Linked DNA regions of Homo sapiens: all the other regions are linked to region 4. Evidence: promoter capture Hi-C in 16 types of primary human blood cells and fetal thymus (Javierre and others, 2016). All regions are on one chromosome and are shown on one strand. Each heading gives the region's core, a stretch centred on a gene start or on the middle of the fragment in contact. The rest is flanking DNA. Distances are from core to core; before and after follow the strand shown. Region 1 overlaps NEB (nebulin). Region 2 overlaps CACNB4 (calcium voltage-gated channel auxiliary subunit beta 4). Region 3 overlaps CACNB4 (calcium voltage-gated channel auxiliary subunit beta 4). Region 4 holds the start of NEB (nebulin).

The links. The method cuts DNA at HindIII sites, captures the fragments that hold promoters and counts their contacts. A CHiCAGO score of 5 or more calls a contact.
Region 1: a contact is called between a fragment that was not itself captured here and the fragment with the promoter of NEB in region 4, in 1 of 17 cell types (M2 macrophages). The highest score is 5.1, in M2 macrophages.
Region 2: a contact is called between a fragment that was not itself captured here and the fragment with the promoter of NEB in region 4, in 1 of 17 cell types (total B cells). The highest score is 6.3, in total B cells.
Region 3: a fragment that was not itself captured here is called in contact with the fragment with the promoter of NEB in region 4 in 4 of 17 cell types (endothelial precursors, naive B cells, total B cells and 1 more); the score reaches 6.5 in endothelial precursors.

What each region holds. Positions count from the first base shown.
Region 1 is chr2:151,537,897-151,540,673 of GRCh38, forward strand. It overlaps NEB (nebulin), which reads right to left. Exons shown (of 182, transcript NM_001164508.2): 138 at 2,448-2,552; 139 at 244-348; 140 at 1-80. It overlaps LOC124906081 (a long non-coding RNA gene), which reads left to right. Exons shown (of 3, transcript XR_007087266.1): 2 at 1-2,777. Among named protein-coding and RNA genes, the nearest start is that of RIF1, 130 kb to the left of the region's middle. The HindIII fragment of the contact is 2,108 bases long and covers 474-2,581 here.
Region 2 is chr2:151,866,718-151,869,443 of GRCh38, forward strand. CACNB4 (calcium voltage-gated channel auxiliary subunit beta 4) reads right to left here. Exons shown (of 14, transcript NM_000726.5): 9 at 2,460-2,518. Among named protein-coding and RNA genes, the nearest start is that of ARL5A, 40 kb to the left of the region's middle. The HindIII fragment of the contact is 169 bases long and covers 1,206-1,374 here.
Region 3 is chr2:151,956,714-151,959,607 of GRCh38, forward strand. All of the region lies in intron 2 of CACNB4 (calcium voltage-gated channel auxiliary subunit beta 4), which reads right to left. Among named protein-coding and RNA genes, the nearest start is that of ARL5A, 130 kb to the left of the region's middle. The HindIII fragment of the contact is 169 bases long and covers 1,363-1,531 here.
Region 4 is chr2:151,733,226-151,736,116 of GRCh38, forward strand. It overlaps NEB (nebulin), which reads right to left and starts at 1,251. Exons shown (of 182, transcript NM_001164508.2): 1 at 1,173-1,251; 2 at 487-570. The HindIII fragment of the contact is 3,549 bases long and covers 636-2,891 here.

The sequences.
Region 1 (2,777 bases), core at 278-2,777, 200 kb before region 4:
CGGTGGTGGAAATGCTCTGGACGATCAGGAATGGACCTCCAGATACCCAACTGGCTCATGTAGTTCTCCTTGTATTTTATCTGTTATAAAAAACACAAAGACAGCTGTAAGTCTTACCCAAAGTTAATGTAAATATGGCTTCTTTCTGGAGAATTTCAGAAGAGGGAGGTTGCTAAAAAATATATGTATATGTATATGGTGAGTTGTAGAGCCCAACACAAGTAGAAATATTTAGGGACATACTTTACTGATGTCATCTGTGACTTTGCGATGATAGACAATGTCTAGGGCATCTTTCACCGTGTGGTATTTCCCTTTGGTCTTTTGAAATGTTTCTTTGTAGCGTAGCTAGAAAGAGAAAAAACACATGAATTACAAAAAAACTACCAAGTTAAATAATTGAGCTCTTTTAAGCATGAACTCTCTTGTCTTCTCTCTGGTTTTCCCATGAATACATTTAGGAAAAATTTAAAAGCTTATTTCAGACCCTAGAAGAGAAAAAGAACACTAGGGAAAACTAATGAAATCCAAAGCAACTATGGAGTTTAACCGATCATAATGTATCAATCTTGGTTCACTGATCATGGCAAATCTACGATGGTGATACAGGTGTTAGCAACAGGAGGATATGGGTGTTCCCCTGGGTGTGGGGCATGTGATAACTCTGTACAATTTCGGTAAATCTAAGACTACTTAAAATAGAAAGTTTATTTAAATATAAAACATAAACCAAAAGTTCATTTGAGAGAAAAAAAAAACCCAAACAAACAACATTGTTGAGCCCAAGATATGCTAATGTACATGGAAAAGGGAAAAAGGTTTAGCTTCTAACTCCTAGTATTAAAATGCCTTCTTCACTAAGCAGTCTTAAAACTTCATTTCATTATAATCTTTATCTTTGTGATATTTCAAGAGAAAACAGCTCTGATTCTAACCTGAGAATATCATAGATGATTCATCTAATCTACACAAGATGGGTGCTTCTCTGCACAACCTATTTTCAACGTCAAACAGTTCTTTTCTTTTGGGGTTAACTGAGCAAACACACAGTGAAAGATGTCTTTTCTTTGACTTTGTAATTTTGTTTTTTAGATGGATCATAAGATTGCTTAGATCTACTTGTGGGGCTAGCCATGGTTAATACTGAATTAAATGCCAGATACTACCCTTGTTACATTAGACTATTGTAAAGATTAGAGTTATCAGAATTGCTACTGATAAAGCCCTAGGGATGGTGCTGTCCAGTGGGGCATGATGAATCCCAGGGCCAATTTCAATGTGTGGCCACCGCTGTAAGATATTAATTCAGCTTGGTTCAAATAAATATTCAACAGTAACTTTGAAGTGATAATGATGAAGGATGTCACAAGAAGACTAAAAATATCCTAGAAGGTAGATTTTGAGGGGAGTATATGATTTTTTCCCAGCTTACATTTTAAGCACTAACTGGCATTGCCTTTTTCTAACTAGTAGGCTCTTCTCTTCTCCAAATAAAAATTCCTAACAAAATTATGGAACTGAGATATTGTTCACATTTGCTGTGCCTTCTCTTTTCTGCCTCGGGCTTACTGCAATTACCTTAAGATGCCTTGAAATCCTAGAGCTATGTTGCTAAGTTGAGGGGGTCATGAAGTTGGCTTGATTTTTGGCTCAGTTTAAGTCCCAACATGTCTAGTCCTCTAGGGGTGTGGCTCTGGTAATGGGTACAGTGAATTCCTGGTTGGACCCTGAGACACAAAACCCGTAAGGATTGGCTATTTACCTTGGATTCACTACTTCACATCTTCATTAACAGATTATTAACAGATTATTACCATTAAAAGGCAGCCTTGCCCTCGATTGTGTGATATGGAAAATGAACATCTGTCCCCCCTAATTTTAACCACTGTGTCATGCATCATTCACATGATCTATATGCAATTAAGAGAAAAAAGGGAACAAACATTTTCTGAGTAACTAGGAGCCCAGCAGCATGCTAGACACTTATACATTATCTTGTTTGGTTTTATTTAATTATCACAATTCTCATTATCATTCCACATATATGAAAAGAGACTCGGAAAAATTAGACAGATGATATAGAGTCATACAGCAGGCAAGTAACAGCATCAGGATTTGAATCCATGTCTGGCTGACTGCAAGACCATAATTTTATGGATAAGTAAATTAACTGTCAAGTATCCCCAGAAAATGCTGCTGAAGAATTATAAGAAAGGGTCATATTTTTATTCAGGAGAGAATTGAGAAGAATAGGCTTCTGGTATCTCTCAGCTATTTTGCCTGACTAGTATTGTTTGGGCATTTTTTTTTCTCTTTAAAAAAATGTGTGTTTTTTTCCTAGGCCATGGTTTAGAACTATGGATATGGCTGAAATATGTTATGTTTCTTAGGTACTTCAACCTCAGCTCTCCCCATCACAACAGAAGAAAAAAGGAAGGGATGCATACATCACTGGCATTCCAGTAAGCCCTCTTGGCTCTGATGAGGATTGGCGTATCTGGAACCGGAGTGTACTTGTCTTTCATCTTTTCATATTGAATCTTGTACTTTTTCTGAGAAATAAATGCAGAAGAGAGAGACAAGCTTAAGTGTCTTCCCAATTTCCAACCAAGCCACCTACAGGTCTTGTGGAGGGGCACAATGTGTTACACACTTTAAGAGAATAGCTCTGCCTTTTGTGTTTTGATGATGCTGAGCACCATTTATAGTAATGAGCTCTCTGATCAGAGGTAGCAGGGGAAGGTTTTAACAAAGTATTTTTCTTTTTACCCAGTGCC
Region 2 (2,726 bases), core at 40-2,539, 130 kb after region 4:
TCTCACCCCTCACCCCTTTAATATCTACCTATCTTTCTCCTGCTGGAGAAATATATCAGATTTCTCCAGGGCTAAGTCTCTCTCTTCAGCTATTACTTTTGCTACTGCTGGGCTCTTCCTCCAGACCCTCTGCCATGTCATCAGACCCCATGAATACTTGAGATTGAAATTTGCATTCAATTTCTATTAAAACCAACTTCAGTAGTATGTGTACAGTAATGGATGCGACAATTCTACTTGATTCGAGACAAATCTCTGCTGTTACAATTAAATAAATTCCCTTTTTCTGGGCCTCAGGATTGAGGAAGAACATCAGATTCTTCATTCTTGAGGGCAAACCTTTAACAGCACTGTTGCGTATAAGTATGTTATAGACCAAAATAATCTAACACTGTCTTATGGGATGGGATTTGTTCAGATAGGGCTGTTATGGGGCCAGTGGATTCGGCACTGCTCAGAACTGCCTTAGGTAACAGCTCCACAGGTTGAAACCATGTGACTCCATACATATCTGAAGGAACTATGCACGTGCGACCAAGGCATGCTGGCTGCCTTCAATCCACAGGGACCTGCATGAGGGTTAGGGTTAAGGCCAGAGCATCAGACAGCAAGACCAAGACCAGCCCTATTAAGTTACAAAGTCAGAGTTCAGCTATTTTTTTGCAATGCTTTTTTAGAAAGTGTAATCCCAATAACCAAAAGTTTCAAACAGAAGCAGGTTGTCTATCTGATTGTGGTTATTGGAGAAATGATGAGTCTAAAAGACATTTTATGTATCCTTCCAACTCCAATGCTCTAGGATTCAGGGCTTTTAACTTATTTTCTTTGAAGCTACTTCATTATCTGCCTATTTCTTTTTTAAAGAGAGTGAAATGGAACAAATACATCTTTCTTATTAAGCCTTTGTCCAGTAGATGAATGTGACGAAGGCTATTATTGATTCAACAAATTCTATCTCCTCTTCCTCCTGGACTGCAAGAGTGCCTCCGCTGCAATTAAGTATGACCACATAACCAAGTTCTAACCAGTGAAATGTCAGTTGCGCTACCTCCAGGCCGGGCAAGCTGACTAGAGACATCGTACCTGGGCTAAGGGCCCCAAATGACAGAGGGAACAAACTTTCTGCCCAATTCTCCCCTCCCCCAACTCTATCCTCCCTCCCAGCCAAGGAACACCTGCTTCAGACTGTTAAGTGAGCAATAATAAGCTTCCATTGTGTTTGAATCACTACACATTTTGGGGTCTATTTATTAAGGCAGCCTGACCTATATACTAATGTACCTAGAAGCATTCTTATTTCTTAAACTAAAATCTGTTTACTAACTTTCTATATTGTTCCAGAAACTAATGAATATTTTACCCAATTATCCAGAAAGCTTTTATTTTAACAAATGCATACAATTTATATTTAAAGCAATACCATGCTTGTTTTTATTCTTAATATACCAATTTATTAAAATCTATCTGAAGTTTTTTTACATTTTAAAATTATTTTGTGCATTTAGTGGATTCTCATAATTTAGCAAAGAGAAAGTGAATGGCTTAATTACTGCCTTCAAAAATAAAGAATGTGATGTTTTTCTTCAATCCTACAGTAATAAACTGGATGCATTTGCCCATACTTTTTGATGCACCCCATTTAAATTTCCTACATTTCTGATAAATCTCAGGTTTTTTCATGTGGTTATTTTTACATGGACTGCATTCAGCACTGTGAAAGAGCTTAATATTTAGAATTGAGTCAATACAGGCTTTTTACCATTTCTCTGCAAAACAGAGAAACTTTCTTTAGAATTTTTCACAAAACTTAAATGATAAAATTATTTAATGGCTAATGCCTGAGCCATATTGTTGATGGATCATAGTAAAATACATTAAAAAAAGATCAATAAAATAACAAGGACATTTCTAATAAAAACAACCCACAACTATAATAAATATCCAAATAAGTACTATTCCCTACAAAATGATCACTTTGGGAGGCTTATGATTAAAATAATTCTCACTCTCTTCTTTTGAGGAAATTCAGTACTTGACATTTATGCTTTCATATGACACACACACACACACACACACACACACACACATACACAATTCCCAAATACTGCCTAGTTTGACCAGCAAGCCACTATACTCATGAGAAATATTATATATTTTAATTAATATTTTTTCATAAAAAACATTTTGGTATGAAATTATTAATAACTGAGAAAATAAAGATATATACATTTAAATAAAACAAATGGCTTATTTTTCTTCTCATGGTCCTTTCTTCACTGGGGACTCAATGTTATACTTCATATTTTCAGAGTTCTTTTATTATATTCTTCCCAAGAATACTGAGTTAACTTTTAACTAGAGAACTTCTGAAATCTCTGGAAACATAGATCTACAATTCAATTTATCACACAAGTTTGGTTAAAGGAAAATAAAAATACAAAAACATCTATATTTCTCACCTCCCATCAAACCTGTGCTTCAGGAAATCAAAGAGGGCTTTCTGCATCATGTCTGTTACCTTTGCAGAGGTGAGAAAAAAAGAATGAGGCAAACACATGCAGAGAGAGAGAGAGAAGTCAAAAGGGAGAGAGGAGGGAGGGAAGGGTACTATGAGCCAAGACCTTATTGTAGCCATTCGTCTCCTAGGGGGAGGTTACCATGGAAGGTGTTTTTCATGCTTAACCATGTGCAATTGCTAATTTCCACCCCCCTTGGTTCTCCTCCAG
Region 3 (2,894 bases), core at 197-2,696, 220 kb after region 4:
ACAAACTATCAAGTGTTTACTCTAGGGAATAGGGTCTAGGATTGTAGGCGAGGAGGGAGACTAACACTACCACCAATTATTTTTACAATCAATATAGCTGAGTGTCTCATCATATTCTGGCTCTTTTAAGAATACAGACCTTTTAATTTCCAGCCGGGCACAGTGGCTCATGCCTGTAATCCTAGCACTGTGGGAGACCAAGGCGGTGGATCACCTGAGGTCAGGAGTTCAAGACCAGCCTGACCAACAAGGCGAAACCCAGTCTCTATTAAAAATACAAAAATTAGCCGTTAGCTGGGCGTGGTGATGCATGCTTGTAATCCCAGCTACTTGGGAGGCTGAGGCAGGAGAATCACTTGAACCTGGGAAATGGAGGTTGCAGTGAGCCGAGATCGTGCCACTGCACTCCAGCCTGGGCAACAGAGTCAGACTCCATCTCAAAAAAAAGAAAGAATATAGGCCTTTTAATTTCCTAAACCTGCTAACCCCCAATTTTAAATTCACTTTGATTTTTTCAAAGAAAAAAAAAGTAGAGTGGCTGGGCGTGTGTGTGTGTGTGTGTGTGTGTGTGTGTGTGTGTGTGTGTGTCCCTTGGGAATCCCTGATAAAATATATTGTGTTCAATCATTTCTGACCATTCCCTAGATTCCTCTTGATTCCTGGAGGAATTAAAGTTATTGAATTTCAATTCATTCCAACAACCATTTATTGAGTGCCCATCTTGAGGCAAGCAAGGGTAGGGTAAGGATAGGGAGATGAATAAACCAATTACATTTTATTTAAAGAAAGACATTCATACTTCAAAGTGCTTACCACCCCAAATAAGTGGACAAGAAGCTAAAAGAACAGGGAAACTAAGTGCTGTGTGCACTGTCACAAACTCTCGAGCTGACCAAGACAATAATTTGACCCAGTATTTCTCAAAGAATTTACATGAAAGTGATTTGGGGAGCGTTTGCCAAAAATATGAATCCTAAGCCTTACTCCAAACTAACTGAATCAAAGTCTCCTAAGAGGGAGGCCCCAGAAATATATATACTGTATCTATTTAACGTTAACTTCACTCTGTCCCACAAAATCCTTCCAGTCTACAACACTGAGATGGTTTGCAGTGATTATGAGGCCTGGTGTAAATAACTAAACCAGCATTTCCCTAATTGTATTCTGTAGTATACTAGTTATTCAAGTACTTAATAGGTATTCTTTAGGGAAAAAAATGGATTCTGAGATCAAGTAGGTTTGGAATATCTTGGGGTTAAATAAAATTTAATTGGTTTATTTATTGTGGAATGCTAACAGATATTAGTGGGCTACTGGGTGCTGTGAATCTTTTGAGAAAGGGACGGAGTATGGTGATTATCAAGCTTATTTGACTAGGGACCTGTTTTTTTCACATGTATCAACAGGCGCATAAATTAATGGCTAGAAACTCATCTACCACATATAAGAAGTATGAGAGACTCTGGAAAATGTTACAATCTACTTCTAAATAGAAAAAGAAATATTTAATGTAAAAGGATAATATATGGCAAGCTTCCTCTATAGTTTCCAAACATGGCATAATAGGGTATATGAGGATAGGTACAGGCCCGGAACAGATAGAGCCATAACCGATTATTTGGCAGCAAGTTCCTGGTAACCGGGAGTCCCAGCTGTCTAGAACGAAACTATTTCATGATCTTGGGATGAAGTCAGTAACTTTCTTAGCCAGAAACCAATGGCTAAAGGGTTGAGGCCTTCAATCCGGGACCTGGCTTCTAACCTGAGATCCCCAGGGTCAGTGGAAAAGATATCAGAAGAAATGGCCTAGTTTTCCAATCTCAGTGGCATCACTGTCCAACCGGTCAGTCACCTAAGCCGAAAGTGGGAGTTCCTCTTCCTTCATAAGCTAATTAGCCATTAAACCTGCTGCATTTATGACTTAAATATTTTTTCAGTTCACCTCCTCCTCTCCATCCCCACTACTGCTGCCCTAGTTCAGGCTTCCATCAGCTCACACCTGTACTATTTCCACAGCTTTTTATTTGGACTCCCTGCCTGAATTCTTCCTCTCCTCAAATCCATCTTCTACCCTGACCAATGCACAGCTGATCAAACCACTTTCCAGTTTAAAAATCTGTGAACGGCTCCCAATTACCTACTGCAAATAATTTCTCTCACAGTATGTTCTGCGAAACATCAATACAGTATGTGATCACAGAAAAAGGGCTCCTTTCAAATGGGAGGCTAGGTATTTTTAAATGTAGGTACAAAGATAACAACTACCTATCAGTGTCTGATCTGTTCCCAGTATAGCAGACAGGTCCAATAATTCCTTGGAGTCTAAGGACCTCGAGGAAGGCCCAATCAGTAATCTGGGAAATGCTTCCAAAGTCTATCAACATCCTTGATTAGAGAATCTCAGAAGTCATTTAACACAAATGCTGATAGGATAATGGACACTTTTTATACTTCTAAAGAAATGATATAGTTTATAGCCAGAGCCTGCTGAATGTCCTCATTTTCTGCCGGAAGTCAATCTGGAACTTCAAAACTATACATCTTCCATTAAATACATGGAGGTGAGGCTTTGGGTTCACAGTATCTTTGCAAGCTCTAAATTAGGAACTGGAAATTCAAATACCCTAAGAATCAGATGAATCACAGCTGACAAAATTCTGGCTGAGTTTCCAGAACAAGGTGTCCCATGCGTACCCTTCCCCCAACCTCCTCAAGACATCTTACAAAACTAGTCACTAAGTTAGACTCAAATATTCCACATTTGAGTTGGCTGCTGGCTGGCATTTTGAAAGCCAGCTTCTCTATGTAAATGCAGCACTCAAATGAAAAATGTAACAACTAGTTGTACATCTTACAGCCAGAACATATTTTAGTTAAAAGCAATATAAATCAAA
Region 4 (2,891 bases), core at 1-2,500:
TTCCCAGCACAGAAATTATCTTATGACATTATAAAAATAGAATTTGAAGCTAAACTATTGTACAAATTCATATATTGTTGCAGGCTAAAGGAGAGAAGACATTTAAAATACAAGTATAAACAGCAGAAGCTTCAAATTTCTTTCTCTTTATTCCTTCAGTGTTGGGAATTGCTACTTCTACATAATCAGTTTAGTTAAAATTGTAAAACGAAATTGAGGTAAGGAAGTGAGAGAGTTTGGACTCAGGGAACAGAGAATTTAAACTTCCAAACACTTAGAGAAAAGACATTTTCCAGCAAAAATTTTAGTGAAAGGTCAGCTTGGGTTTCAGAAGAAGCTGAAATTTATCCCCCAGCACCAAAATTCTAAGAGGGCTGACTTAGTTTTCCATACTGCCCTGATCCACTGTTTGCAATATATCTTAGGCTTCAAATTGGAACCCATAAAAATACATCTGTCAATAAATTTTAAAAGAAAAAAAGAAACCTCAAGGCAATGGGGTTATTTTCTTCCCGAACACCATTGGCTTATACAGACTTTTTCTTTCGTTTCTGTAGCTCTCGTTCAAACCTGAAAAATAACAAAGTTGTAAAGCATTGATTGAGGTACATATAGGATTGTCAGTCCTTAGCCTAAGCTTCTAATGCAGAAAACAGCGAAAGGATCTCTCAAGGCCTCTACAGTTTGACGCCAGAGAGTAAGACTCTTGATATGAAGTGGATGATGAGTTGGAACAGCTGTCCCTTCATCCAAAGATGTTTGCCATGTAAACCAATACCCTGCAGTGGCTGGTTTTGTTAAGCTAGCGAAACTGCCACTCCTCAGGCAAATGAAGCCCAGTAGAACAGGATAAATATAGGAACGTAGAGCAGCGTATCTTCTTTTTCACACTAATATATTTAGAGAAAAATATCAAAGGCAAAAAAATGTTAGACAAGAGAGCCAATTCAGTCAAGCAATAAATTGGTTAGCAAAGGACTTGACTCTAATCACACACGGTACATAGCAGATATTAGTAGGGCCTTAGTAGGGCAATGGGGTTAAACTCTCCTAGCCATATTTCTACCACTAATTTCCTCAGTTATGGCCCAAACCTTTGAAAAATACTTCGAGGGAAGTTGTGGAGCATCTCCTGAAAGAGTATTACAGAAAAAGTCATAAACTGGCCTTACCTTCAATCTACCAAATAAATTTCCTCAGCAGCAAAGCCTCTCCCAACTCTCCCCTCCTGAGAACCCCAGGCAAAAGCCAGCGTGATGCCTGGGCTCCGAATTATCATGTGGCAAGAGCAACCAATCAGATCTTGAGTTGCTCAAATTTCAGAAGCTAAATTTACCAAGTGATCTTCTGAAAACCACCTGTTCATCAATTCCACTAAAGGATAAAGGGTAACAAATTGCTTGCTTAGAACAATTCAAATGGAATCAAATTTTACCTAACTTCCAGCCTGTGCAGTTCAATTTTAGGTTGAATTTCCCATTTACTGAGGCCCCATTCAATGTCATATTCATGCAAAAGAATTTAGTAGAAAATAAGCATGACTTTGAGAGGCTTTAACCCTTCCGTGACTGCTTTCTTCATGTCATTTGTCCAGTCATGGTGGTAAATGTACTCACTCTGGTAAGGTTCACCAGGTGAGCTACAGGTAAGTTACTGGTGCTAGTGTGAAAGAAACTGAGGAATAAGACCCAGTAAACATCAAGTTGACAAAAGCAATTTTTAAAAATGTGATGAGTGAAGTTAAAGGTGAAAATATTTGACAATGGCACTAAATAAGATATCCACAGGGTGTAATTAGAAAGATTAGACCCCATCATTTTTCTGTTACTAAACCAAGAGGGTATACCAAAATCCTATTTAGCACCTTCTCCCTCCTTAGATAAGGCAAGCTGCTAGGAATACAGAACCTCTCTCATATGTAACCGAGTTAGTGATTTTTCTATTAACTCAGATGACTCCTGGCTCCCAGAAGCAACGTGTGAATGCGGACACAAACAGGCTCAATTTCTGAACAGCAAGAGCAGATAACATGGAAATCAGTAACTTATCAGGAGAAAATAATGCCCTATTTGGCAAATCCGAACGTAAGACATTTCCTTCATAAAAATTATCTAACCATTTTCTTAAAACTTGCCTGATGTCTTTCTTGCACTTTCTTTGCTCCTGAAGTATTTTTTCTAATTTAAAATCTAATTCTATCTGTCTGTCTGTCTGTCCTTACACACAGCGACAGAAATCACAGGCTCTTATGTGACAGAGAACTGCTCTTTCTCTGGGTTGCTCCTGTATTCAGGCAAAACCCTGTGAGTCACCTATATCTTGATATGGATTTGAGATTAAACATATTGTAATATTTTTTCTTTTTTAAGTTAAACATTAGAAAGTAATCTCGCTGGGCGTGGTGGCTCACGCCTGTAATCCCAACACTTTGGGAGGCCGAGGCGGGCAGATTGTCTGAGGCCAGGAGTTTGAGAAAGTAATCTCATATTTCAAATACATGTACCTTTTCCCCCTCCATGATTCACATGGTAGTAAATAAAATCTAACAGAATTTTATCATCTTAACTGATTATACCTGTTCATCTTGTATGTTCTCACAGGTCTTATGACCAAAGGATATTTATGTAATATGAGATCACTCACTTGGTAGCTGCAAACTAGAATTGTGACTTACTAGTCATTACATGCTTTAAAATGTGTTGTTGAATTAAAAAATAATACAGGCCCATACTTTAAAAACATAGAGTACAAAATTATATAAAGTAAAAAATGAGCATTGACCTTCTTAGTCATTTTTAAGTTTCAGATATTTTCAATATAGATATTGACATAAATCGATATACTTAATATGCAATAGACATTTTTATGAAACATCACATAAACATATCCTA